Linked DNA regions of Homo sapiens: all the other regions are linked to region 2. Evidence: promoter capture Hi-C in 16 types of primary human blood cells and fetal thymus (Javierre and others, 2016). All regions are on one chromosome and are shown on one strand. The core of a region is centred on a gene start or on the middle of the fragment in contact, and the rest is flanking DNA. Distances in the headings are between cores, read along the strand shown.

The links. Contacts are between HindIII fragments. The CHiCAGO score rates a contact against its expected background, and 5 or more counts as called.
Region 1: a fragment that was not itself captured here is called in contact with the fragment with the promoter of EPHB6 in region 2 in 1 of 17 cell types (naive CD4 T cells); the score reaches 5.3 in naive CD4 T cells.
Region 3: the fragment with the promoter of PIP here is called in contact with the fragment with the promoter of EPHB6 in region 2 in 6 of 17 cell types (M0 macrophages, M1 macrophages, total B cells and 3 more); the score reaches 8.8 in M0 macrophages.
Region 4: the fragment with the promoter of TAS2R39 here is called in contact with the fragment with the promoter of EPHB6 in region 2 in 5 of 17 cell types (total B cells, neutrophils, M2 macrophages and 2 more); the score reaches 7.2 in total B cells.
Region 5: a contact is called between a fragment that was not itself captured here and the fragment with the promoter of EPHB6 in region 2, in 1 of 17 cell types (non-activated CD4 T cells). The highest score is 5.3, in non-activated CD4 T cells.
Region 6: a contact is called between a fragment that was not itself captured here and the fragment with the promoter of EPHB6 in region 2, in 9 of 17 cell types (M0 macrophages, neutrophils, naive B cells and 6 more). The highest score is 10.7, in M0 macrophages.
Region 7: a fragment that was not itself captured here is called in contact with the fragment with the promoter of EPHB6 in region 2 in 8 of 17 cell types (fetal thymus, endothelial precursors, M2 macrophages and 5 more); the score reaches 10.0 in fetal thymus.

The regions. Positions count from the first base shown.
Region 1 is chr7:142,399,908-142,403,870 of GRCh38, forward strand. It overlaps TRB and TRBV10-1. Among named protein-coding and RNA genes, the nearest start is that of MIR11400, 73 kb to the right of the region's middle. The HindIII fragment of the contact is 5,689 bases long and covers 1-3,963 here.
Region 2 is chr7:142,853,577-142,857,242 of GRCh38, forward strand. EPHB6 (EPH receptor B6) reads left to right here and starts at 1,500. Exons shown (of 20, transcript NM_004445.6): 1 at 1,500-1,809. The HindIII fragment of the contact is 5,828 bases long and covers 1-3,666 here.
Region 3 is chr7:143,130,186-143,133,618 of GRCh38, forward strand. It overlaps PIP (prolactin induced protein), which reads left to right and starts at 1,892. Exons shown (of 4, transcript NM_002652.3): 1 at 1,892-2,026. The coding sequence starts at 1,932. The HindIII fragment of the contact is 4,172 bases long and covers 1-3,433 here.
Region 4 is chr7:143,181,556-143,185,274 of GRCh38, forward strand. TAS2R39 (taste 2 receptor member 39) reads left to right here and starts at 1,864. Exons shown (of 1, transcript NM_176881.2): 1 at 1,864-2,880. The coding sequence starts at 1,864. The coding sequence ends at 2,880. The HindIII fragment of the contact is 8,536 bases long and covers 1-3,719 here.
Region 5 is chr7:142,496,257-142,499,788 of GRCh38, forward strand. It overlaps TRB. Among named protein-coding and RNA genes, the nearest start is that of MIR11400, 23 kb to the left of the region's middle. The HindIII fragment of the contact is 6,150 bases long and covers 1-3,532 here.
Region 6 is chr7:143,200,622-143,204,290 of GRCh38, forward strand. LOC124901764 (a long non-coding RNA gene) reads right to left here. Exons shown (of 2, transcript XR_007060567.1): 1 at 2,555-3,669; 2 at 1,435-1,806. Among named protein-coding and RNA genes, the nearest start is that of TAS2R39, 19 kb to the left of the region's middle. The HindIII fragment of the contact is 871 bases long and covers 1,518-2,388 here.
Region 7 is chr7:142,514,768-142,518,506 of GRCh38, forward strand. It overlaps TRB. Among named protein-coding and RNA genes, the nearest start is that of MIR11400, 42 kb to the left of the region's middle. The HindIII fragment of the contact is 1,200 bases long and covers 1,375-2,574 here.

The DNA.
Region 1 (3,963 bases), core at 213-2,712, 450 kb before region 2:
GATCCTGCCCTGGAGCTGAAATGGGCACGAGGCTCTTCTTCTATGTGGCCCTTTGTCTGCTGTGGGCAGGTGAGGGCTGGTCACAGGAGGGCCTCCTTCCCTGGAATTCCCAAGGCCTCAGTGCAGGCTTTTCTGTTGGGATGACAGCATCAGCATCTGTTGTTCTCTATTACAGGACACAGGGATGCTGAAATCACCCAGAGCCCAAGACACAAGATCACAGAGACAGGAAGGCAGGTGACCTTGGCGTGTCACCAGACTTGGAACCACAACAATATGTTCTGGTATCGACAAGACCTGGGACATGGGCTGAGGCTGATCCATTACTCATATGGTGTTCACGACACTAACAAAGGAGAAGTCTCAGATGGCTACAGTGTCTCTAGATCAAACACAGAGGACCTCCCCCTCACTCTGGAGTCTGCTGCCTCCTCCCAGACATCTGTATATTTCTGCGCCAGCAGTGAGTCCACAGTGCTGCACAGCTGCCTCCTCTCTGCACATAAAGGGCAGTTAGAATGACTGAGGTTGCCTGTGCTCCCAAGTCCCAGCCTTCACAGGAGTCGGAGAGCCCTGGCTAGCCTGGGGGCCATAGAGCAGGGGCCATATAAACCTTGATGTTGAGGTCCATTCCTACCCCAGTCTCAGACCAACTGGAGGTCACCCCAACACCCTTAGCTTCTGCAGTTCCCTCTTTCCTTTTGTAAAATGGAAAAGGCATCTTTAGTCGAGATTCCTAATTTCGTTGAAAATTTGAAACCCACCATATTCTTCTCTACCCTAAGGGCTGGGTGACTTTTCCACATACCCTTTCCCCTACCCTCTACTGCCTTTCAACTCCCAATCATAAATCTTTGCCCATGTGGTCTCTGCTCCTGGGGGCCCTTTATTCTAAGGGCAATAGACCCACGAGGTCCTATATCATTAGCCATTTACGTACCTCTTCATCATCATTTTGCACCATGTTTTCCCTGGCTCTCTGCTCCAGCCACACTCCCTTACATGCAGTTATTTCTTCATATGTGTCTGTTGTTTTCCACCCTGGGGATTGTTTATATAAATTCTTTCTTCTGCACTGAGCATACATACCACCCACTTAGTCCTACATCTCTACTTCATTTCTTAAATTAAAGTGTATTTCAGGCACACTTGCTCTTAATTGTAAAAAGCAAAAAAGAAAGTTTACTAGAAAAATTTAAGAAAAGCATTTTATGCATTCAGTTGAGGGATGACATTTTTAGAGGAGACAAAAAGCCACAAGCCAAAAGAACAACATTCATAACGCTAGTTGCATTAAATTGTTTCAAGCCAAAACACACCATAAAAAATAAAGTTAAGCTACAGCCTGGGAAAGGCATGAGGAATGCATACAAATGATGAAAAATCAGTGTGACAGAGAACATTCAGTGTAACAGAGAACATTCAGAACATCACTGAATACCTGTAGCTCCTCCATGGTTTCTGGTCTCCCTTGCAGTTGGAGGGGTGGGAACATGTCACCAGGTTCTGAATAGTGGGATAAAATGATGTCAGCTCATTTCAAGCCTGGCCCTTAAAAATATTCTGTGGCACCATGTTGAGGGTCTCTAAATGTACTCCCATGTTTAGAGTGTTGGTATATGGCATAGAGTTGTACTCATGGCTAAGATTTATTAAAGTGTCATAGTAAATACTCTGCAGCAGAACATGTGGAGAAAACACACAGGCAGAATCTGGAGGAATTCACAGGCAGGCTTCCTTATGCTCTCTTCCTCTCAGGAGGGGTCACACAGAGCTCTCTCTCCTCCCAGCAGCAAAAATGCATTAACACACGTGCAGTGTATCTGCCAAGGGAGCCCATTACAGACTTAGCACCCAAGAGGTTTTAGTAGAAGCTGGTCACACAGGCACCTACTTTTTAGCATGAACCAAAAGTCTAGATCCCAAAAGAAAATCTGATGTTCAGCATAATATTATTTGCAACACCAGCCTAGGAACGATGAGCCACCCCTGTCAGTCAGGAGAAACTTTGCATCAGTTCAGGGCACCGTTCACCAGCCAAGCTCCCAGATGTCTGCCAGAGTCCAATCTTGCAAGCAGGACTTTCTAAGCACCGCAGTCTCCAGCCTCCTGTCAACTCTTGTGCACAGACACTCTTCAACTCTCTTTTGCCATGTCCTGAACTCGGGAGCTACACGGTACAGATTGCCTAATGATAATATGGAAGCAGCCTGGCTCACTGAGTCAGAATTTGGTGGACAATCACAGAAGAAAGCTGCTCATGCCACACTGGGCTTTGTGGTCATGGGAAGTAAGACTTCATAGAGCTATGCCAGTGAGATTTTAGGATTTGTTTTGTTTGTTTTGTTTTCTGTAGCACAGCTGTTCTTGTCTAAGAGAATTAGTATCTAGAATGAGTAAAATATTCTTATTACTTAGTATTAAGAAGACAGCTCAATAAAAATAGCAATACTGAGGCTGAGTAGGCAATTCACACAAGAGTGAACATAAGTTACCACTAAACATGAGAATAACTTCGCAACCTTACTTACAATCAGAATATTGCAACCTGAAACAGTAAGTTATGATTTCAAAATTACTAGATTGGATACTTTTCCAAGGAATGACAGTCCTACATTTGAGTAGACATATGGGCTGGTGAAAATTGTTTGTATATTTATTACAAAAGATAATTACAACTACATCAGAAAACCCACTGTGGGATATATTGTGACAAACCACATTTCTGGAAAATTTATCAATGTATTTAAATCACTTGGGTTCCTTTCATTGTCTTTAAGTTCAATAATGGAGAATGCAACTGTCAGTGTTTTTCCTATTTTGAAGGTAGTCTTTCCATCTTTTAAAAAGTATGATAAAATGCACGTAACATATAATTTCATCACTTTATTTTTTAAATGTACAATTCAATGACATTAAGTACATTCACCTTGTTGTGGAATTATCAGCATTATCCATTTCCAAAATTATTTTCATCACCCCAAACAGAAACCCTGTACCCATTAAGAAATAACTTCACATTCTCCCTCCTCTGGCAAACTCTAATCTATTTTGTATATGAACGAATTTGCCTATTTTAGATAATGAATTTACATGAAACCAGGCACTATTTTTCCTTTTGTTTCTGGCTTCTTTCACTTAGCATAACGCTTTCCAGGTGTATCCACATTGTAGCATTTATTAGAACTTCATTCTTTTTCATTCTCAATAATATTCCATTGTGTGTATATAACACATTTGTTTATTCATTCATTAGTCAATTGACATTTGGGTGGTTTCCACCTTGTAGATATTGAGAACAATGGTGCAGTCAAGATTGGCCTGGAAATATCTGTTTGATTCCTTGTTTTCAATTCTTTTGGGTCTATACCTAGGAGTGGAACTTCTGGGTCCTTTGGTAATTCTGTTTCTCGTTTTGAGTAACTACCAAAATATTTCTTTGTTGCAGCTGCACGATTTTGGATTTCCACCAGCAGTGTCCAGTTTCTTCACAACATTTCCAGAACTTGTTATTTCCTTTTCTTTTTCTTTTTTCTTTTCAAAAATATGATGATGATGATTACTGTTTTTATAGCCATCCTAGTAAGTGTGAATGATATCTCATTGCGGTTTTGATTTGCATTTCCCTAATGACTAAAGATGTTAAGTGTCTTTTCTTGTGCCTATGGGCAATTTGCATACCTTCTTTGAAGGTAATATTTATTTTATTTGATTGTGTTTTTAGAGTCGCTGTTGACTTTAGATTTAAGCTGGTGTACTGTGATGATACTAAAGGAAATTGAGATTGAGATTAAACTTCTCTTGGGCGATTTGTTGTGGCTAGTGTTTTTAGTGCAGTACTTCTGAGACATTTTTGGTATACTGTAGAAGAGAGAAATAAGTAATTTATTGATATTTCTGGGAATTAGATTTTTTTTTACAAAGAGAAGAGAGATATAAATAAGAAACGGGAAGATGAGGAAG
Region 2 (3,666 bases), core at 250-2,749:
ACCAGAAAATGAAGGAAGCCCTCCACCACTGAGTTTCAGGGCAAAGGGAAGAAACAAGATAAAGTAGAACCGTCAGTACAAGTGGAATTATTAATGACGTCCAAATGCAGTCATTAAATACTATCAGACTTATTTATTGACTCCTGATATTAAGAGTGAACAAACCCCTGGCCAAGTGGGAACTTGCTCGGTAGCCTTTATCTTTCTATCACTCATTCAGTCAATTCATTAAAGCCTGTTTGTCTCTCCCAGGTGACTCTTACTGAGTTTCATTGTTTTGTTTATTGTGTTTGTTGGCTCATAGATCTCTTTCACAATTTTCTTCGGCTTCTGAATGCTCTTTAAGTACCAGTTTTGATCAGCCCATTTGCTTTAATAAACAGGAGAGCAAGATGGGACAGGGCGATACAGGGAGAAAAGGGGGCAAAGGGAATCGCACCGGGTGCTTGTGCTCCCTAGAAAAACCAGCAGGTGGTAGCAACACTTCGTGGCAAGGCCCCAGCCCAGCTCTGTAGGACCCAAACAATAGACCCCAAATCCCCGTCCTCGGCTAGAGAAGGGGTTAGAGGTGGGCGGAAACACTTTTCCTCGCGGCGCCCCCTCGGTTCCTCAACCCTGCCTCCAGGCGCCAGCTGAGAGCACCTTGCACCGCCCCTCCTCACTGCAGGGAGGTTCTCTCCGGAGCGCGGGCGAGGGAGGAGGCACCCAGAGGTGCAGCGACTTGCCCAAGCCATGTCAGAGCCAGGCGTACAGCAGCGCTTCCCCTTTTCAACCCGACTGCCCTGCCCCTTGGGGAGGGTAGATGGAGGGAGGTTCGACTCAGAAGCCCCAACGTTGACCAAGATCCAGACACGAAAAGAGAAAAGAGTTCCCGGCTAGCACGGCGACGCTTTCATACCGAGACGCCCCCCTCTCCCGCTGCCTCGGCTCCCCCTACCACCGCCCGTACTCTCCCAGATTTCTCAGTTTGTCTTTCCCTCCACCCCCTGCTTTTCCTTCCTTCTCTCTTGCTCAGCTCACGCCCACCTTAGTTCCAAGCTGAGTAGGAGCCCCACTGTTTTAGTTCCTAGAGTTAAAGCCGAAGAGGAGGGAGGCGCGAGGGGGTGTGTGCAGGGCTCTGCCCTGCCCTGAACTGCCACGGTCCGCCAGTTGCGCTTCGCTCCGCGGGTGTCCGACCCAAGCCGAGCCCGAGCCCGAGCCCAGGCAGGGGCTTTACAGACAGCCTCTTCCCTTCCCACTTCCTGCAGGCGCCCCACGCGTGCGATCCTCCCGGCCAAGACCCGCGGGAGGAGGCCGCCCCCTTCCCGGCGCACAGGCGGGGCCCCGGGCGCGCCCCGCGTCTCCCCCGCGCGCCGGGGCGGAGGAGCGGGCGCCGCGCACTCACCGCCTAGGCCGGGAGGGCGGGCTCGGCTCCCCGGAAGAAGGGAGTGGGAAGGCGGCCAAAGGGGCTGAAGGGGCGGGCCGGGCCGGCTTGGGAGGGGACGCGGAGGGGGCGGGCCGGGCTGCGTTCGCTCCAGCCGCGGCTCTACAGCAGCGGGCGGCGGGACCCGGGACCCAGCTTGGCGACGGCGATCTCGACGCGGGCCCCCAGGATCTCCCGGCGCCCCACCTCTGGAGCAGCCCCTGCCGCCAGCGTCAGGTCCACCCCGGAATCCCAGGGACTCTCGGCGCCGAACGGACCCGGGCCGGGTGCAACGGGGTCCCCGGACTGGAGAAGACGCGGGTGGCACCGTGCGAGCTCCAGGAGCCCCGGGTCCACTGCGAGGCCTCGGGGGGCGCAGACCTGCAGAGACTGCGGCCAACGGGAAGGTGAGCCCGCGGGGTTAGCAGGCGGCGTTGTGGGGGTCGGGGACAGTATGCTTGGGGACAGAGGAATTAAGGTTTGCAAGAGTAGTGGGGCTCCTCAGCCCCTAGGTGGCTTCCTGAGGGAGTACTGAGGATCCTTCCTCAAGGCCAGAGTGGGGTTCATGAAGGGTGAGGAAACGGTCAACCTGGCTACTCCCCTCTCACTCCACTCTGACCTGGCATCATTGACACCGCATTACCCTTGCTGTTAGGATCCCCCAGTTGCGTTCCCAGACATTCTCCTCTGGCTCTGGCTTGGGAGTCCTAATCTGGGAGGGTCCTCGCAGAGACGGAGCTCCACGCTTGGAACAGGATTGCCACCCCTCTGACTCCAGTGGCATCACTCCAATCCCCTTGGAGCTGGGAGGAGTCAGGAGGCTGACCACACACCTGTCCCCTGCTCCCCACAAGGCACTGTCCCCCCCAGCTCCATGACCACAGTTAAGCCTTGGAGGTGGAAGGAACGCTTGGTTCCTGCTGCCCAGCCATCACCCCCAACGTGCAACCAAATTCTATTGCGTGCTCCTGCCCCAGCTCCACCCTCGCTCTGCTCCCTCCATCTGGGTGCTTGGCCCTGCTTGCCCCACACCCCCACCCACCGATCTTGGCCGTCTGGCACCCTCTCTCCTCCCATCCCTGGGGGAGCTGGCATGGACCCAGCATAGCAATGTTGTAATGTCCCTGGCAGCGCCCATGGAGCGGAGCTGCTGGGTCTGTTCCCAGTTAACCCAGGCCCTCCGCCCGCCAGGGGAACTTGACTGAGGCTCTAGGAGGGGAGATGCTGGTCCTGAGCTGAGAGACCAGTGGGAGGGAGCTGTGTGGGGCTGTTAGTAGACCACAGAAGCTGCCCAAGTAAGGGGCATTGGAGCATTGAGGCTTCTGAGTGCTGCTCAGTGGGGCCACTTGGCTTTTCAGAGCAGTGGGCCTTTTTTCTCAAAGGAAGATTAGCGTGGGGGTGTCTATGTACTTACCTGGTGGCCTCAGAAGGAGGACTTGTTTGGAGTCTATTACTCCATTCAGGGTGCAAAAAGATGGTTGGCAATGACACTGAGTTACCAGAATGCTGGGGAGCAACAGGCTGGGGTGGGCTGAGCATGGGAAAGGCAGGATCCTCCTTCTGGGACGGCTGTTCTGCTATCACTCTGTCCTGAGCCTGGGCCCTAGACCCTGAGTTCCCACTCTAGGTAGAAGGAGGATGGCAGGTTCTGGAGGGTTTGGGAAGCCTCAGGTTTCCCTTTCTTTACCCACTCCTCCCCGCCCCCCACTTGGCTCCCTCTCCCAGCCCAGGTGTTTCTGCAGAAGTACCTCCTGGGGCCAAGAGCAACTCACAGCCAGACTGGGGGTAGAGCAGGGGCCGAAGGTGAGGAAGAAGGGCCCATGGAACCACTCCGGAACCAGCACTGATGTGCATCTTCTGCCACAGGAAAGCAACAGCCCCCATCTACACAGACAGCATCTGCTCCCGCCCACCTCATCTCATACACATTCCCTTACACACTCCACCAGGTAGACACACATCCTCAGGCACTGCTGACGCAGGTGCTACTCCTGGCACTCAGGGGCTTTCTTCCACAACCTTCCACTTACTCATCTCTCAGGCACATTTGCCTCCTGCCTTAACACCCTCCCTTATGCTCTTTTCCAGAGCCACGCATGTCCCCGGTCAGTGCACAGAGTGGCTCATTCTAAGTGGCTGTCTGGCTAGACCTAGACACTGCCTGCATCTTAAAAGCCTCCCCCAGCTCCACAGCCTGGGAGTGGGAGGCACATTTGTCTGAGTCACAGTGCTCTGGGGGACATTCTCAGGGGCTGGAGGCCTCC
Region 3 (3,433 bases), core at 642-3,141, 280 kb after region 2:
AGCTTGGCCAACATGGTGAAACCCCATCTCTACCAAAAATACAAAAATTAGCCGGGTATGGTGGCACCTGCCTATAATCCCCACTACTCGGGTGGCTGAGGCATGAGAATTTCCTGAACCCGGGAGGTGGAGGCTGCAGTGAGCTGAGATCATGCCACTGCACTCCAGCCTGGATGAGTGAGATTCTGTCTCAAAAAAAAAAGATTGTCCTGTACATTGTAGGTATTGCAGTTTCCTGCTAGCTCACAGAAGAACAGCCTCATTACCTTCAATAGATGCTCTTAACCCATCGTCATCTGCCTTCCTCTGGACACTGCCTTTTGGGAGTGCTGGAGTTGCATCCTCAAGGACAGGGCTATGCCTTCAAAGAGCCAAGCAAAGAACTTTTCCTGCATTTTCCCACACAGACACTTCCTAGATTCTTCTGCCTTATGCCTGCCTTGGTCAGTGTAGCTAGGATGTGCTTCAAATGGAAATTATGCAAGTGAGAAGGACCAGGTGTAAAGACAATTTAATTGTGGGAAAAGGCTTACAAAGGAAGGTCATTGTGACCCTCACAAGCAGTGTTCTTGAGTGGATAGGACATAAACAGGGAAGAAAGCATGTGATCATGAGAACAGCTGAAGTTCTGAGTGAGCAATGACATGAATGGTGTCCAATTCAAAGAAAAGAGAAGGTAGATCCAGGAGCTGAATAAACAGACAGAGCAATTTTGAGAGATACATCCAGAAAGCAGAAGCACACACTTACACTTTAGCTCTGAATCCTGGCTAAAGCAACATACAGAGGCGGTAACTCCTAGAACTCTGATTTTCACTCTGTTGCCAGAGAGGCTCTTCCTGGGCAGCTGTGTGCCATGCAAATGATAGAAACAAATCCCATAGTATTGTAAGTCATAGGTTAAGGAGCAGATTTAATTTCATAAGGAGAAATAACACAATGCCAGTGTCAGCAAGAGCAAGTCTCCCCATCATCCCAAGGAGAGGAATTCTACAACCTGGGTATCTACTGGACATAATGTGGGCTCCATTCTCACAGAAGGAATCCTTTCCACTGTGGTTCTTCCTGTGTGGCTTACGCATGAGACAAGTGTAAGAAAGTGGCCATGTCAATAAGAAAATAAGCCAGCTCTTTGGTGCCAAGAAGTCTGATTTGGGGGTGCCAGCTATTTATAGGAATTGTCTAGAATTAAAATATCACCCTGCCTTGGGGATTGTGGGGCAGCTGGGGATCTTGGACATCTGCAGTATATTGCAACCACACCTGAAATTAAGAAGGACTCAATGACAATAAACATCTTTACATCACCCAGTGTCTTGAACTCACTTCCCCATCATGTAGAGCAGCTCAGGTCTTCTCTAGCTCTTCCACCTCATGATGGGTAGTGACTGCTAGGGAAGTCCTGATCATCCTAGCCCTCCAAGAAATGTTTTGAATAGCATTGCATCTTGAACTCACTATAATTTGATCAAGCAAAGATGTTCTATGTCTCTGGTCTGAAACCTGCCACCACAGCTGTGTTCTCTGCTTTCAGAGACCAGGGGAGCAGTGACTGAAGCTAAGACTACACATAGCACTTCAGACAGGCAAATTAGGAGGGAAAAGAAAACTGAATCTGTAAACTCGGGAAAAACTGGTGTATCTTTTGAGGTCCCAGCCATTTTGAGAAACTCTGATGCTGAAAAAATAAGGAAGAACAATCTGACTCCTCTCTCAAACGCTGACATTCTAGCTGAGTGTTGATTTTTTCTTAGAAAAACAAACTTTGGGTCAACAAGGAAAGATCACGAGTGGGGAGGGTGAATGGGTGATTCACCTCATGGATCTCCCTGGCAGCTCTTGCACTTCCTTGATCAATCTGTATATAAGAAATGTGCTGGGCACCTGGGACACCACTTCTCTGGGACACATTGCCTTCTGTTTTCTCCAGCATGCGCTTGCTCCAGCTCCTGTTCAGGGCCAGCCCTGCCACCCTGCTCCTGGTTCTCTGCCTGCAGTTGGGGGCCAACAAAGCTCAGGACAACACGTGAGCCATGCCCTTCTCCTCCCCACAAAAAAAATTGCAGGGAGGGCTCCTCTCCCAGTCTGGAAATTACATATCTCTTTCTGAGAATTTCTTTCAACTTCCCAGAACTCTAGTCCCAGGAGCTCCCATGGATCTCCTGCCAGGTTCCACTTCTTGTCCTCTTAGGAAGCCCCACCAACTCCTCTCACATTTTTGCTGGGTGTTTCTGCATTGCCAGTGGAAATAAAGCTCCAAATGTACCTACAGGCTGTAATTAGTAGTTAGTCTTCATCTAACATGCTGATCCACATCTTGTTCATAATTTATACCTTTGTTCAGATTTCTGCTCAGTAAACTTTACCTTCTCACACCTTGCCTCCTAGAAGAGAAGCATAACAGGTCTGTGAATTCCAATGGCAGCTTAGGGCAGCTTTGGCAGGACTGGCTAAAGGACCAGAGGCCCTGGCCACTGCCCTGTGGTCTGAGATTGAGCTAGACTGGCAGCTTAGACATTCTTCCTAACCTGAAGTCTGAAGATGAATATGATGACCTCTTGCTCTCACGTATACTGGGACCTGAGAGCACAGGTTCAGAAGTCAACTTATTGAGAACACATGTGTGAAGGAAGCAGAAAAATTGGAGCAAGTAAAATAAAGTAGAAAATGGAGCCAAGGGTCTGGGAGAAAGCAGCGATACCCAATCTAGGGAGTTTTCTCTATAGCAGTAGGGTTTATAATGCTGGGTTTCTGGGTTGTGATCTTGGAGGTACTCTCTATGGCATGGTCAGATATCCTGTCCTGGAGGAAACTGTTCAGGGTTTTGACAAGCTAATGTAATGGAGGCAAGTGTCCCAAGAAACCCTGCATGGGGACAGGTTCAGATCCCACCCCATTCCCGCCAGATGACAGTCCACTTAGCCCTGAAGGGCAGCAAGGTATTCAAATAAGCTATGCTAATTAGGTTATCAACCATCCATCCTGATTTGCCCAGAACTTTCCTGGTTGTAGCACTGCAACTCTGCCCTCCCCCGCCACCTCCACAACCCATTCTGGAAAAGACCTCAGTCCTGGGTAAACTGAGATGGTTAGTCACTCGAACTAAGCTGGTCATCCTATCAATCTGAAACTCATATACAAATGGGAGAGATTTTGAAGTTGCTTAGGTATTTATACCCTTTTCCTGTGCACTGGGCACTACAGCAGTTGGCACCAAAAAATAGAATCTCTCTAAGATGCTTTGCCCCAAGAAAATGGGGCTGTGAGACACTGTGGGCTAAGAATCTCAATTCCCTTCTGTCCCACACAATAACAAAGGTCCGTAGCCGGGAGTTTCTAGGGACGAGAAAATAACTCTCCTGGCCCCGAACCCAGTCCTCATTGACTGAAGAAGAACATTTGACCATTTTATTTGTCTCCATTTCCTTTCCTT
Region 4 (3,719 bases), core at 614-3,113, 330 kb after region 2:
CTGCTCTGTCTCTGCTTCCCCTTCCTTTGTTCCCCTCTGTCACCCACCAGTGTTTCTTACACAGATGTTCTCTACAGTCTGCTGTGTTCTCACTGAACCTCACTGTTTATGCTCTGACACTTGATTTAGGCATAGGACCTGCAGATTTTCAAATTTGAGGAGACGTGGAACTGCCATTCCTCCTCATGTCTCTCATAAAGAGCTTCTCTGAGCTGAAGGTCTTCACTAAGGCCATATATCAACCCAGCAAGTATCTATGTACTGCCTCCTGGGTGTCTGGCATGGGCTAGGGGCTCAGAGTGGGATACATGGATAAACAAATCAAATGAGGAAAGACGCAACAGCCTCTGAAGGGACCATGTCCTGTTTCTCCTCCCACTCTTGGAAGCCTGGATCAGCAGAAGTAGGGGAAAGCCAGTGGCAAGAAAAATCCTCTTTAAAACCAAACTGGAGGTCCTGAGATACTCCAGGCCTACTTGTGCAAATGGGTAGAAACAAGCAGAGAGGAGCAGTTGTCTATTACGCTGTATTCAAGGGAAATATTTGTTCAGGAATAGTGATTTTCAAATGAGATGGTAAAATTCGTAACAACTCATCTAAAATCATTAATCAAGCCAGAAAACGTTTATGAGTTCTTGCCTTGTTTTTAAAAGGCTTTAAGTAAAAACCAAATGTTATAAAGATTTTCTGAGACTTCTCACCCACCAACTTTCTCTTTATTAGAATTATTACTTCATCATTATTTTAAAGTTACATACATTCATAAAAATTAATTTACCCTGAAATGAAAAGTCCATTTTATCATTATGTGTCCTATGCTTGCGTTTTAAAATCAGAAAAAAATTCCTTAAGATAAAAGTGATTCTTTTTTCCTTTCTTTTTGTTTTAATATTCCAAAATTGGATGAATTGGGACATTGCTTTTATTCTCAGGTTCGCTAGCTTACCTTGCTAGGAACTAGGGAGTTTTACCTTCAACTCTTATTTTCCTAGTTTTGCTTAAAATGAAAGGTGAATATGTGTGTGTGTGTGTGTGTGTGTATGATCTTTTATGTATAATTAAATTTATTACCTCTCAAGTAATCTACTTTGAAAAGAGAGTCCTATCTCTTAAAAATCAGTGTCTTCTTGCTTTATTGATTTTTCTTTAGAGGGTGGGGACATAAAAGGCTACCAGGAAAAAAATGTCATAGTGGAATCAACCCTGCATTTAGTCTTGGGCACACAAAAGAATCCACAGGTCTAGGTAGCATAACATGGTGGATAAGAGGAGGAACTCTGCGACCAGGTGACTTGGGTTTGAATCCCAGTTCTATCACGCTCTAGTTGTGTGATGTTGGCCAAGTTATTTAACCTCTGTATGCCTTAGTTTCTTCATCTGCAAAATGGAGGTAATAGAAGCACATGCTCATAAGGTTGTTGTGAGGTTTAAATGTAGTAATTATAAATAAATCATTTGAAAATTTCTTAGCACAAAATGAGAAGTGCGTGTGTGTGTGTGTATGTGTGTAGCAGTTTTTATTTTCAATCATTTTCTGCAGTCACAAGTGAAAGTAAGTTAAATGATGACTCAGTTAACCAATGTTCAAATTAACTGATGCTACCAAAGAACACGGACCTCAGTACCATGTTAGCTGCTTTTAAAGAGTCTACTCAAGCGCTTCCCTGGGCCTCATTATTGAACCACTACCAACATGTTCAAAAATAGAGAGAGGATTAGAAACCAAATCCTTCCAACATTTGCATCTCTAGATGTAGAGCTAAGAATTCTGAAATAAACAAATGCAGTGAATTTGGAAATGATACATCAATTGCTTCCTCCTATGACATCAATACTGGGAGTTATCAAGAGTCTGCCCATCAAATGCTAGGGAGATGTTTTCCTCCAGACACCAAAGAGAAGCAACAGCTCAGAATGACTAAACTCTGCGATCCTGCAGAAAGTGAATTGTCGCCATTTCTCATCACCTTAATTTTAGCAGTTTTACTTGCTGAATACCTCATTGGTATCATTGCAAATGGTTTCATCATGGCTATACATGCAGCTGAATGGGTTCAAAATAAGGCAGTTTCCACAAGTGGCAGGATCCTGGTTTTCCTGAGTGTATCCAGAATAGCTCTCCAAAGCCTCATGATGTTAGAAATTACCATCAGCTCAACCTCCCTAAGTTTTTATTCTGAAGACGCTGTATATTATGCATTCAAAATAAGTTTTATATTCTTAAATTTTTGTAGCCTGTGGTTTGCTGCCTGGCTCAGTTTCTTCTACTTTGTGAAGATTGCCAATTTCTCCTACCCCCTTTTCCTCAAACTGAGGTGGAGAATTACTGGATTGATACCCTGGCTTCTGTGGCTGTCCGTGTTTATTTCCTTCAGTCACAGCATGTTCTGCATCAACATCTGCACTGTGTATTGTAACAATTCTTTCCCTATCCACTCCTCCAACTCCACTAAGAAAACATACTTGTCTGAGATCAATGTGGTCGGTCTGGCTTTTTTCTTTAACCTGGGGATTGTGACTCCTCTGATCATGTTCATCCTGACAGCCACCCTGCTGATCCTCTCTCTCAAGAGACACACCCTACACATGGGAAGCAATGCCACAGGGTCCAACGACCCCAGCATGGAGGCTCACATGGGGGCCATCAAAGCTATCAGCTACTTTCTCATTCTCTACATTTTCAATGCAGTTGCTCTGTTTATCTACCTGTCCAACATGTTTGACATCAACAGTCTGTGGAATAATTTGTGCCAGATCATCATGGCTGCCTACCCTGCCAGCCACTCAATTCTACTGATTCAAGATAACCCTGGGCTGAGAAGAGCCTGGAAGCGGCTTCAGCTTCGACTTCATCTTTACCCAAAAGAGTGGACTCTGTGACCAGCACCCAAGAAGACCACAGGACCTGGCCTTACCAGCTCTGCCATTCCCTCACCTAGACCTCTCTTTTCTCTCTTCTTTTCTTCTCCAACCCTCATCTGACCCTTTTCGCCTGATGTGGCTTTTTATATAGGAAATTGATCATTTCTTTTTTGCTTCATGGGTACAATCTTAGTGGTACTGTCATATTCTTTACCTGAGCCCTCTACCTCCCCTTGCTCTGTTTAAAGCAGTGATTCTAAGCACTGGCTACCCATTAGAATCTCTAGGTTGATTTTTGAAAATACCAATGTTCAAACCCAATCTCAGATCTATTAAGTCAGAATTTCTAGTGTTAGAACTCACACAATTTTCTAAGATCTCCAGGTGATTCTGCTGTGCAGCAGGGTTGTATAGCCACCAAAATAGAAGAATGTTCTGAAACTAGTTCCTGACAACTCTCTTTCTCCCTCCACATGCCTTTTAAACACATTTAGATAACTTGGGAAGTTTTCTGAGCAGAAGTTTGAAATGCATTTTGTCTCCATCTTTCAAAGATATAACCAAAATAATGTGGAACTATTTATCAAAATTAATAATGCATAAAACACCTTTCATCCTAAAAATTACTAAGAATTTTTTCTAAGCATGGTTTTGTATAAATAAGCAAAAATATGTGCAAGAGGCTCTTCACAGCTGCACTGTTCATGAATGACGGGAATTGAATGTCTGAAATGAATATTATGTTAACCTTTTTTAAATGAGATAGATGCATGCTTCCTGAGATGAAAAGATTTCCAATACACAGTGCAAAAAGCAAGGAGATATTTTATGATTCCATCTGTATTTCTTTTTTTCAT
Region 5 (3,532 bases), core at 58-2,557, 360 kb before region 2:
TGACTTCATCTTTTGCTGATCTATACTTTTGGGGTAACATTGTCATTTTAGGAGGATGTGTTTGTTTATCTTTAGTGATTCACATTAAATAATCTCTTTATACCTCAACGTCTGTGTTTTCTTACTATTTAAAACCAAATATTATTTTCTTTCATTCCTCTCCTTCTATTCCTCTTTCTTTAGATGGTAGTTTAAGGGAGAAAAAGTTAAACTATAACTGGAGATATTTGTTAAGAGTTTTTCAGAATGACGGTGGGATATTAAGATTTTGGTAACTGAAAGCAATAGTCAGGGTTAGAACTAGTGTTGGTATGATGATTTAGGGAAGCTGCTCATAACACCTGCGGGACGGCACTTGTGGAATATTCTGCCGGCTCACTCAGCAGACACTTCCCAGCGGAAGAAATAATGATGAAACTTCACTTATTGGCCACAAGATGGCACTATGGTCCACTGGGCTCTGGGGAGTCTGGGCGAGCAGTCTAGGAGGGAAAGGGTTAAGAAAAATTAGGGCTTGGATCCCATATTATGCAGATGTTGCAGCAGTTTTCAGTTATTGCTAGGCTACCTACAGCTATGCAAGAGGCGGGAAGTCCCTGTAATCTTTAGTGACATCTACAGTTGAAGAATTTTTGCCTTCGTATCAGGGGCGGGTGCAGAGGAGCAAATGCCTCAGAGGAACATTGGAAATTGTCTGACCAGGCAACAGCTTTAACCTGCTTGAGTGATCTGGGATTCTGCAAGTTCATAAGTCTTACTGATAACATCACCTTGGCTGAGATTCCATTGGACACCAAGTATGTGTTCTCTGGAGGGCAAAAAATATTGAGAAGTTCTAAAACACCTAAGTAAACAGACTACTGAAGGAAAATGTTAGTAGACACATCAAACTGTGCTGTTAGAGCTGAATATAATTGACTAGAAGAATTATCAAAAATAGACTATAAATAAGTCACTACTAAAGTATTTGTGGGCATAGAACAGTGTTTGAGTCTTCTCAGGGTAGATTAAGGAAGAAATTCAGCTATTATCCTCATGACCTTGGCTTGGATGAAAATGCATGGACTCCTCAATTTATTTTCTTGTAAAATGTTACAGAATAATATTGAGCAAACATTTTATTTTTCTCCAGCCTCTATCCCTCTTTAGCACTTACAGGTAGAGCAGACACCTAGACGCAAGGTTTTTTAGTTGGGATCCATTAACTGCAGGACTGGAGATCCACAGCTGGGCTTTACAGGGATTGCAAACCCCACATGCAGGGAACCCCGTGTGTCTGCGCTGTGCCCAACTCCCCTCTGTGAGGCTGCCAAAGGCGGAGGGCCGGGTGTCCCAGGACCCCACTCACAAAGAGGGGAGCAGGCTGCTTGCTGGGCAAAAAAATCACTTCACCAATTGGCCAATCTGTTGAAAGCCAAAAAGAAATGAAAGTCTCAATTGTGAGACTGATGAATGCCCAATTTCCCAAGTTATGAAACGGATAGCAGCTCATGGTTCTCAGAATGATTTCAACAGCATATGAAGATATTTTTAGAGAGCTTTTGTTTGTCTACAGCTTTCCTTGATATTGATCCTCACTTGTTTTTCAGCCCACTCATCACTTGAGCTTATTTTGTGGCCAAATTTCAATGTTGTCTATTTCAGTCACTGAGCACTTCTCACATTCTCCAAATCTTACACAGCTATGTGTGTTCCTGTCTTTTCTTCTTTTTGTGTGATTCATTTTTAAATTGGGCTGTGCAGAATACAAGCATACATTTGTAAATGACTCCCATCTTTTATGCAATTTAGCTGTTTAATTTTTAGTAATACTTTTTATTAAGGTATAATTAATAGAGAGTAAAACACAAATATTAATAGAAGGACATCCTGGTACATTTTGACAAATGCATACGCCAGTGCAATAGTAACTGAAATGATTATAAAAAAAATTTCCGTCACTCAAGAAAGTGTCATCATGCTCCTTTCTAATCAATTTCTATCCCAGGGATAAAAACTTTTCTATGTGTATCACTGTTGAGTAGCTTTGTCTATTCTTGAGCTTCATATAATGGAATCATATTTTTATTGAATTGTTTTTCTCCAAAATTAGTATTTCTGAAGTATATTCATATCGTTGTATCAGTAGGTCATTCTTATGACTAATATTCCATTGCATAAATATACTACAACTTGTTTATCCATGCTCCTGTTGATGGATATCCATGTTACTCCTGTCTTCAACTATTATGAATAAACTTGTTGTGAACATTTTTGTGGAATTCTTCCTGTGGACATATGCATTTTTTTTAAAGAAATAGACTTAAGAGTGGAAATACTGACTCATAGTGTAGATGTGTGTGCTATGCTTGCATGTCCTCACAAAATCTCATGTTGAAACTTGTCAAGGTAATGGTATTGGGAGGTGGGACAGCTATGACTAGGGTCATGAGGGATCTGCCCTCAGAAACAGATCAATGCCCTTTATTGTGGGAGTGAATTAATTATCTTGGGAATGGTCTTCTGATAAAAAGGATGAATTCAGTCATTTTCTCTGACTTCGGTGCTTGCTTCCCCTTCCTTCTGCCTTGGATAACAGCAGGAGGCCCTCAGCAGTTATTGCCCTTCTATCTTGGACTTCTCAGTCTCCAGATCTATAAGCCAAATAAAACTATTGTCTTTATAAATTGCCCATTCCATGGTATTTCTCTATAGCAGTAGGAAAGAAATTGAAAGAAAATATGGTACCTGAGAGTGAGGCTGTTGCTATAATACCTGAAAATGTAGAAGCAGCTTTGGTTAATGGGAAGTGGCTAATGGATAGAGGCTGAAAGAATTGGGAGGAGCAGACTAGCAAAAGTCTAGATTCCTGAAAACAGAGCATAAAGGGCAATTCTGGTGAAGGCTCAGGGGGAAATGAGGAACAAGGTATTGAAAATCGAAGTAAATGCCATCCTTGTTGTAAGTAGCAAAAACCTTGGCAAAATTGTGTCCTGTTCTAGAACTTTATGGAATATAAAAATTATGAGCCATTTGCTAGTATATCTGCTGAAAGAAATATCTAAGAGGCAAAGCATTCAGGCTACTGTGTGACTACTTTTAGCCACCAGGAAATTTAACCCAGCAAGAAGGGAGCCATGGGAATAGATTTTGCAAACCAGCACAGATGGTGACTCTACCTCCCTCTGCTGTCCTGTCTCCCATAAGCCAAACTCTGTGCTGTGAGCTGTTAAAGTCCAAGAATTATTTCTGGGGAATCTGTACTCTTAATAATTTACAGACAACACAGGTCTGCTTTGGATCTGATCAGACAGACTAAATCTTGGGGACTGTACCAGTGGCCACTGAGAAAAGGGGCTCGGAATGTTGTCTTGGATAGAAAAATATAATAAGAAACATTGGTGTGAATCTAGCATCAGAAAGATGACGTGAGGACAGCAAGGAAGAGCTGGAAACTGAGGTTTACTCACAGGCTCCTCACCCTCCGCTGATGGGCAGGTGTGTGAGCTCCAGCATGGAGCACCACAGCACTAGGTGGGAGAACGGTGATAGG
Region 6 (3,669 bases), core at 703-3,202, 350 kb after region 2:
TATTGCCTGGATGTAATTTTAAATCATACTTTAAATATCTGAAAGCCTGTTGTGTCTTTTTTACTTTGTTTTTAATTGGCATTTAACAATTATTCATATTTATGAGGTATAATGTGATATTTTAATACATGTATAAATTGTGTAATCATCAAATCAGGATATTTAATATATCTATCTCCTCATATAATTATCATTTCTTTACAGTGAGAACATTCAAAATTTTCCTATTTTGATGTTTGTTTTGTTTGTTTGTCTGTTTGTTGGTTTGTCTATTGCACAGGCTGTAGTGCAATGGTGAAATCTTGGCTCACTGCAACCTCTGCCTCCCGGGTTCAAGTAATTCTCTTGCCTCAGCCTCCCAGGTAGCTGGGATTACAGGCATGCATCACCACGCCTGGCTAACTTTTGTATTTTTTTAGTAGAGATGGGGTTTCACCACGTTGGTCAGACTGGTCTTGAACTGACCTCAGGTGATCCACCCTCCTTGGCCTCCCAAAGTGCTGGGATTACAGGCTTGAGCCACTGTGCCCCACCTTTCTAACTATTTTGAAATACACAACATTGTTAACTAACATAGTCACCCTACTGTGCAATAGAACACCAGAACTAATTCCTCCTATCTAACTGTAACTTTGTAGTCATTGACAAATCTCTCCCCATTTGCCCCCTAATCTCACTATCTTCCCCAGCCTCTGATAACCACTATCCTACTCTCTACTTCTATGAGATCAACTTTTTAAGATTCCACATATTGGTAAGATCATGCAGTATTTGTCTTTTTGTGCCTGGATTATTTCACTTAAAATAATGTTCTCTAGGTTTACCCATGTTGCCACAAATGATAGTACTACAATTTTTTTTTTTTTTGAGATAGAGTCTCACACTGTTGCCCAGGCTGGAGTGCAGTGGCACAATCTCGGCTCACTGTAACCTCTACCTCCTGGGTTCAAGCAATTCTCCTACCTCAGCCTCCCAAGTAGCTGGGATCACAGGCATGCACCACTACGCCGGGCTAATTTTTGTATTTTTAGTAGAGACAGGGTTTCACCATGTTGGCCAGGCTGGTCTCGAACTCCTGACCTCAGGCAATCTGCCCGCCTTGGCCGCCCAAAGTGCTGGGATTACAGGTGTGAGCCACTGTGCAGGCCGTATTCCAGTTATTTTTTATGTCTAAATAGTATTCCACTGTGTATATATAAAACACATTTTCTTTCTCTATTCACCCATTGGTGAACACATAGGTTGATCCCATATCTTGACTCTTGTAAACAGTGCTGCAATAAACATTGAGAGTTCAGATACCTCTCAGTGATTTCCTTTGGACATATACTCAGTAGTGGGGTTGCTGGATCATATGGCTAGTTCTATTTTTAACTGTTGAGGAATTTCCATACTGTTTTCCATAATGACTTACTAATTTACATTTTCACCTTCTCATTTCTTAATTGTTTATTTTTAATAGCATCCTTCTCTTATTTTATGGAGGCAATATCTTCTGTGCCTCCTCTAAGGACACAAGCTTAAATTTTTTGTCTTCTTTGATCTTTATTTCTTCAGGGGTAATTCACTCTTGGTGTTTAGCTTGGTCTTTCTCTTTCAGGCTGTGGATTTTGTTCCTATTTCTGATCATCCTTGATTAGTAATTCATGAAGGAAAAGGAAAGGCTGTTTTGGGTAAGCAGGTATCATTCTCCAGTAGAACGGTCTCCTGAATGGAAAGGCTGATTGGAAGCTCTCTTTTGTAACTGGGCCACCTTGACAGGCTGGCTCCTCTTTTAGGTATGTGGGTGTGGAATCTGACATTAGCCTGGAAATTCAAAATGCCATAATAAAAAAAGGGTTTAATCTATGTGCAAATATCTGCACTTGAAGCCCTAGTTCTTCCTTGGAAATGTATTCAATTTTTCTAGAAAAGAATTCTCAATATGAAGGTTTTCGATGGTTCTGTATGCAGTGGCAAGGAAGGCACTGGAAAGCATCAATGATGCAGCTATATGGCAGACAGAATTTTAATGATGCCTCTGGTTTTTGCACAATGTCTCGCTCCTGCTATCCAAAGCTAGGAATCCGATAGCCAAGGCCCTCCAGGCTTCTAGCAGCCTGATCAGCCACCACATTCCCAGAGGCCCATGACATGCATATTCTGAGCATCCTTTACTCCACTTCATCTACAATATGCTTTTTCTGATTGTCCACAACCAAGAAATAGGATGAAATCTCCAGTCTGCTCTTGGCCATCCTCATTCCCTTCTCTTTAGTGTTATGATATTTTTTTCTCTATGGAGTCTCAGAAGAAAGGGAAGTAGTGAACACATTATTTAAAAAATCAAATCAAAACCTTATACATACTTTTTTTTTATCATACAAGAACCTCTGGGTCTATTTCAGAAGCTTAATATTTGGTGCCCAAAATATTTTATCCTGGACAATCTTATATTGCACAAATCTTAATTCAGAGTCATAAAAGTCCCCCAAACTGGCTTTTTAAGCTGGTGCATAAACCCCATTGATGATAGTCTTATCCTATTTTTGTTTATGCTCATGTGCTTTCTCACCTGTTAAGAAACTTGCTAATTCTATTATGCGACTCTCTGGCAAAGCTTATCAAAGCTTCAAATTAATTAAGCAGTGGCAGCTCCCAATTTCCTTTTCTTACTGGCAAAAATTTGTTTCACAGAAAATGTTTAGAAAGCTTAAGTTGGTAACAGCTGATTGTTGACCTGGAAATAAGAGGTCTTCATCAATATGTTAAGCGGTCAGGATACTTAAAGAAAAACATCTATGGAGACTTCTTAGCATGCACTCTAGGCAAATACTTGCTGTCCTTCACCATTATTTCAGGATTTTTTTTTCCTAAAAGCATAAGAACAAACACATAAATGATAAAAGCAGAATTTAGGCCAACTCTAGCTTGCCTGCCAAGTAGGTAAGATGCGGTGGCAGAATACTGGCTACACTTGTGCCTGTATCACCATGGAGACCCTACTCTGACCATCAAATAATGGGATTCTAATGAGGAATGCTGCTGAACAACAAGCATGGCTGAGCACAAAGACAGAGCTGCTGGCATTGGAACATGGGAGTGAGCAAGAAAGGGGCAGCCCAAGGGAGAAGAAAAGGTGACACTGAACGTAGGTGTCGTGATGAGAAGAAAATAGGTTGCAGGTGGTGACTGCCTGGAGACCAGCCCAAATCACCTTCCACCTTTACGTGGAATCCAGGCTCAAAGCAGGAGGGACAAACTTGAGTGGGATAAATGTGACATGAAATGAGTCAGTTTGCCCAGAATATGTTTTTACCTATGAGGTGGATTGCATGGGATGGGGGAGGGGGGCTTGTAGGCAGGAGGGGCTGGGTCATGGAAATTAAATGAATTACTTTCCTAATGTGCATTGTTGTTTTTTTTTTTTTTTACACAATTGGTTCACAAAATAAAAAATTAATCCTTACTTTATGTATGAGCTCATCTGGGATTTTGAAATAGCCTCCTGATGCACATCTGTACTTAGACCAATTCTAAATCCTGGACTAGAATTTTGAGTAAAATCATCTCCAGGCAAGAGCCAGGACCAGTGAGAGCTGAGAGGCTCAAGAAGTGATGAGAATAGATTAGATGAACCCTCACTGCTGATATCAGAATTAGAAATGAATTATAACAAGGCTGAGTTTC
Region 7 (3,739 bases), core at 725-3,224, 340 kb before region 2:
CACAGGAATGGCTCTGTCTGTCTCTCAGGTAGAGGGAGGCCAAACAGTGATGTTTGTATAAGAGGGACTGGGTTTCTGTGTCTCCATTAAAGTATTTGACAATATTTTCTTTGTTTTTTTTTTTTTTTTGGTTTATTTTTCCATCTCGCCAATGAGGAGAGCAATCCCTTGGTAGTTATATTGTTTTTGGCACTTGGGAAGGTTTTTGTGGTTAAGTCACATTAAGAAATTGTGCCTTTTTTTCCTGTTCAGCTGTAACCCAAGGCAGTGAAAGAAACAGCAATAATTTTGAAAGCAGTTACTTGTGTATCTTATGATAAAGGTGTTAAGTTTCATTGCCCACATCTAACTTTCAGTCTAGTGGAAATGAAAAGGCACAGTTAGGGGGCATGTGAGCATGCCATGAGAGAGGTCAATGCCAATTGAGAAGTCTGTGCCAATCCCCAGTACTGTGGGATTGAAGGGGAGGGAGAGATGACCTCTCCTTCAGACCATGGTCAACAAGGAAGGAGAGGGAGTTCATCCATGGGAACCTGAAAAGCAGCAAATCCCAGGGGCATCTAACTTCAGGTGCAGGAGCAAATCCTTGGAGAGGAAAATGGTCCAGTTCAGCTGTCACGGGAGACAGGAGAAAGCAAAGTCATCTAATCCACAGTCCCCTGGCTGATTTGCTTCCTTATGATACTATTTTGCATCAGCGTGTCCTCATCTCCCGCTGCTCCTCTGCCTCTTCCAGTGTCATCTCTTCCCTGTTTGCTGCTCAGATCAGTGGATGTGCATTGTACAAGGTGATCATTTCCTATAGCAGTCCCTTTGCTACTCTTAGTTATATCCATCCTTATTTTCTGCATTAGGTACTGCTCCCTCCACCATTGCTTATTGTCTTGTAACAGGTCTCGTTTTATATATTTCAATTTTACTTTTTATTAATAGACATTTGACTTCATCTTTTGCTGATCTATACTTTTGGGGTAACATTGTCATTTTTGGAGGATGTTTTTGTTTATCTTTAGTGATTCAGATTAAATAATCTCTTTATACTTCAACGTCTGTGTCTTCTTACTATTTAAAACCAAATATTATTTCCTTTCATTCCTCTCATTCTGTTCCTCTTTCTTTAGATGGTAGTTTTAAGGGAGAAAAAGTTTGGCTATAACTGAAGCTATGTGATAAGAGTTATTCAGAATGAGGGTGGGATATCAAGATTGGTAACTCAAAGCAATAATTAGGGTTAGAACTAATGTAGGACTTAGGGTTTAGGGAAGCTGCTCATAAAACCTGCGGGATGGCACCTCTGGAATATTCTGGCAGCTCACTCTGCAGACACTTCCCAGCATTCCTTGGGCCATTACAGAATTAAACAATGATGAAGCTTCACTTATTGGCCACAAGATGGCAGTGTGGTCCACTGCGATGTAAAGGGCTCTGGGCAGTCTGGGGGAGCAGCCTAGGAGGGAAAAGGTTAAGAAAAATTAGGGTTTGTATTCAATATTATGCAGATGTTGCAGGAGTTTTCAGTTATTGCTAGGCTACCTACAGCTATGCAAGAGGCAGGAAGTCCCTCTAATCTTTAATCAGATCTACAGTTGAAGAATTTTGGCCAGGCAGCCTTGGTGTCGGGGCATGTGCAGACAGAGGAGCAACTGCCTCAGAGGAAAAGGGAAAAGTGAGAGGCAGGCTGTGCCCTGAGCCCAGTGGGTCTCTGCTGCACCTCATCTTCCCTGCAGGTCTGGCCAGGCAACAGCTTTAACCTGCTTGAGTGATCTGGGATTCTCCAAGTTCATAAGTCTTACTGATAACATCAACTTGGCTGAGGTTCCATTGGAAATCAAGCACATGTTCTCTGGAGGACAAAAAGTATTGACAAAAATTTCTGAAACACCTCAGTAAACAAACTATTGAAGGAAAATATTAGTAGATGCACCAAACTGTGCCGTTAGAGATGAAGATAATAGACTAGTAGAATTTTACAAAGGAGACTATAAATAAGTCTCTACTAAGTATTTGTGGGCATCAAGCAGTGTCTGAGTCCTCTCAGGGTAGATTAAGGAAGGAATTCAGCTATTATCATGACTTTGGCTTGGATGAAAATCCATGAAGTCCTCAATTGATTTTCTTGTAAAATATTACAGAATAATATTGAGCAAACATTTTATTTTTCTCCAGCCTGTATCCCTCTTTAGCACTAACAGGTAAAGCAGACACCTAGAGGCACGGTTTCTTTAGTTGGGATCCATTAACTGTAGGACTGGGAGGTCCATAGCTGGGCTTCACAGGGAGTTCAAACCCCACGTGCAGGGAACTCCGTGTGTCTGTGCTGTGCCCAACTCCCGTCTGTGAGGCTGAAAAGGGGGAGTGCCGGGTCTCCCAGTACCCCACTCACAAAGTGGGGAGCAGGCTGCTTGCTGGGCAAAAAAATCAATTCAAAAATTGGCCAATCTGTTCAAAGCCAAAATGAAAGGAAAGTCTGAATTGTGAGACTGATGAATGCCCAATTTCCCAAGTTATGAAATTTGTAGCAGCTCATGGTTCTCAGAATGATTTCAATAGCATATGAAGATATTGTAAAAAGCTTTTGTTTGTCTACAGCTTTCCTTGATTTTGATCCTAGTTGTTTTTCGGCCCACTCATCAGTTGAGCTTATTTTGATGCCAAATTTCAATGTTGCCACTTCAGTCACCAAGCACTTCTCACATTCTCCATAACTTACACAGATATGTGTGTTCCTGTCTTTTCTTATTTTTGTGTGATTCATTTTTAAATTGGGCTGTGCAGAATACAAGCATACATTTGTAAGTGAATCCCATATTTTATGATTTAGCTGTTTACTTTTTAGTAATACTTTTTATTAAAGTATAATAGAGAGTAAAACAGAAATATTAATACAAGGACATCCTGGTACATTTTGACAAATGCATATGCCAGTGCAATAGTAACTGAAATGATTATAAAAAAAATTCTGTCATGCAGGAAAGTGTCGTCATGCTCCTTTCCAATCAATTTCTATCCCAGAGATAAAAATTGTATTTATTTATTTATTTAGAGACAAGAGTCTCACTCTGTCACCCAGGCTGGAGTGCAGTGGTGTGATCTCAGCTCACTGCAAGCTCTGCCTCCCCGGTTCACGCCACTCTCCTGCCTCAGCCTTTGGAGTAGATGGGACTATAGATGCTTGCCACCACACCCGGCTAATTGTTTGTATTTTTAGCAGAGACGGGGTTTCATCGTGTTAGTCAGGATGGTCTCGATCTCCTGACCTTGAAATCTGCCCGCCTCAGCCTCCCAAATTTTTGGGATTACAGGCATGAGCCACCGCGCCTGGCCAAAACTTTTCTTATTTTTATCACCACTGACTAGCTTGGTCTATTCTTGAACTCCATATAAATGGAATCATATAACATTTTATTGAGTTATTTTCCTCCAAAATTAGTATTTCTGAAGTTTATTCATATTGTTGTATCAGTAGGTCATTTTTTCTTATGACTAATATTCCATTGCATAACTATACCACAACTTGTTTATCCATGCTCCCGTTGATGGATATCCACATTACTCCTGTCTTCAACTATTATGAATACAGTTGTTGTGAACATTCTTGTGGAACTCTTTCTTGTGGACATATACATTCTTTTTTTTTATTTTATTTTAGGTATAAACTTAAGAGTGGAAATACTGACTTACAGTGTAGATGTGTGTGCTATGCTTGCGTGTCCTCACAAAAGCTCATGTTGAAATTTGT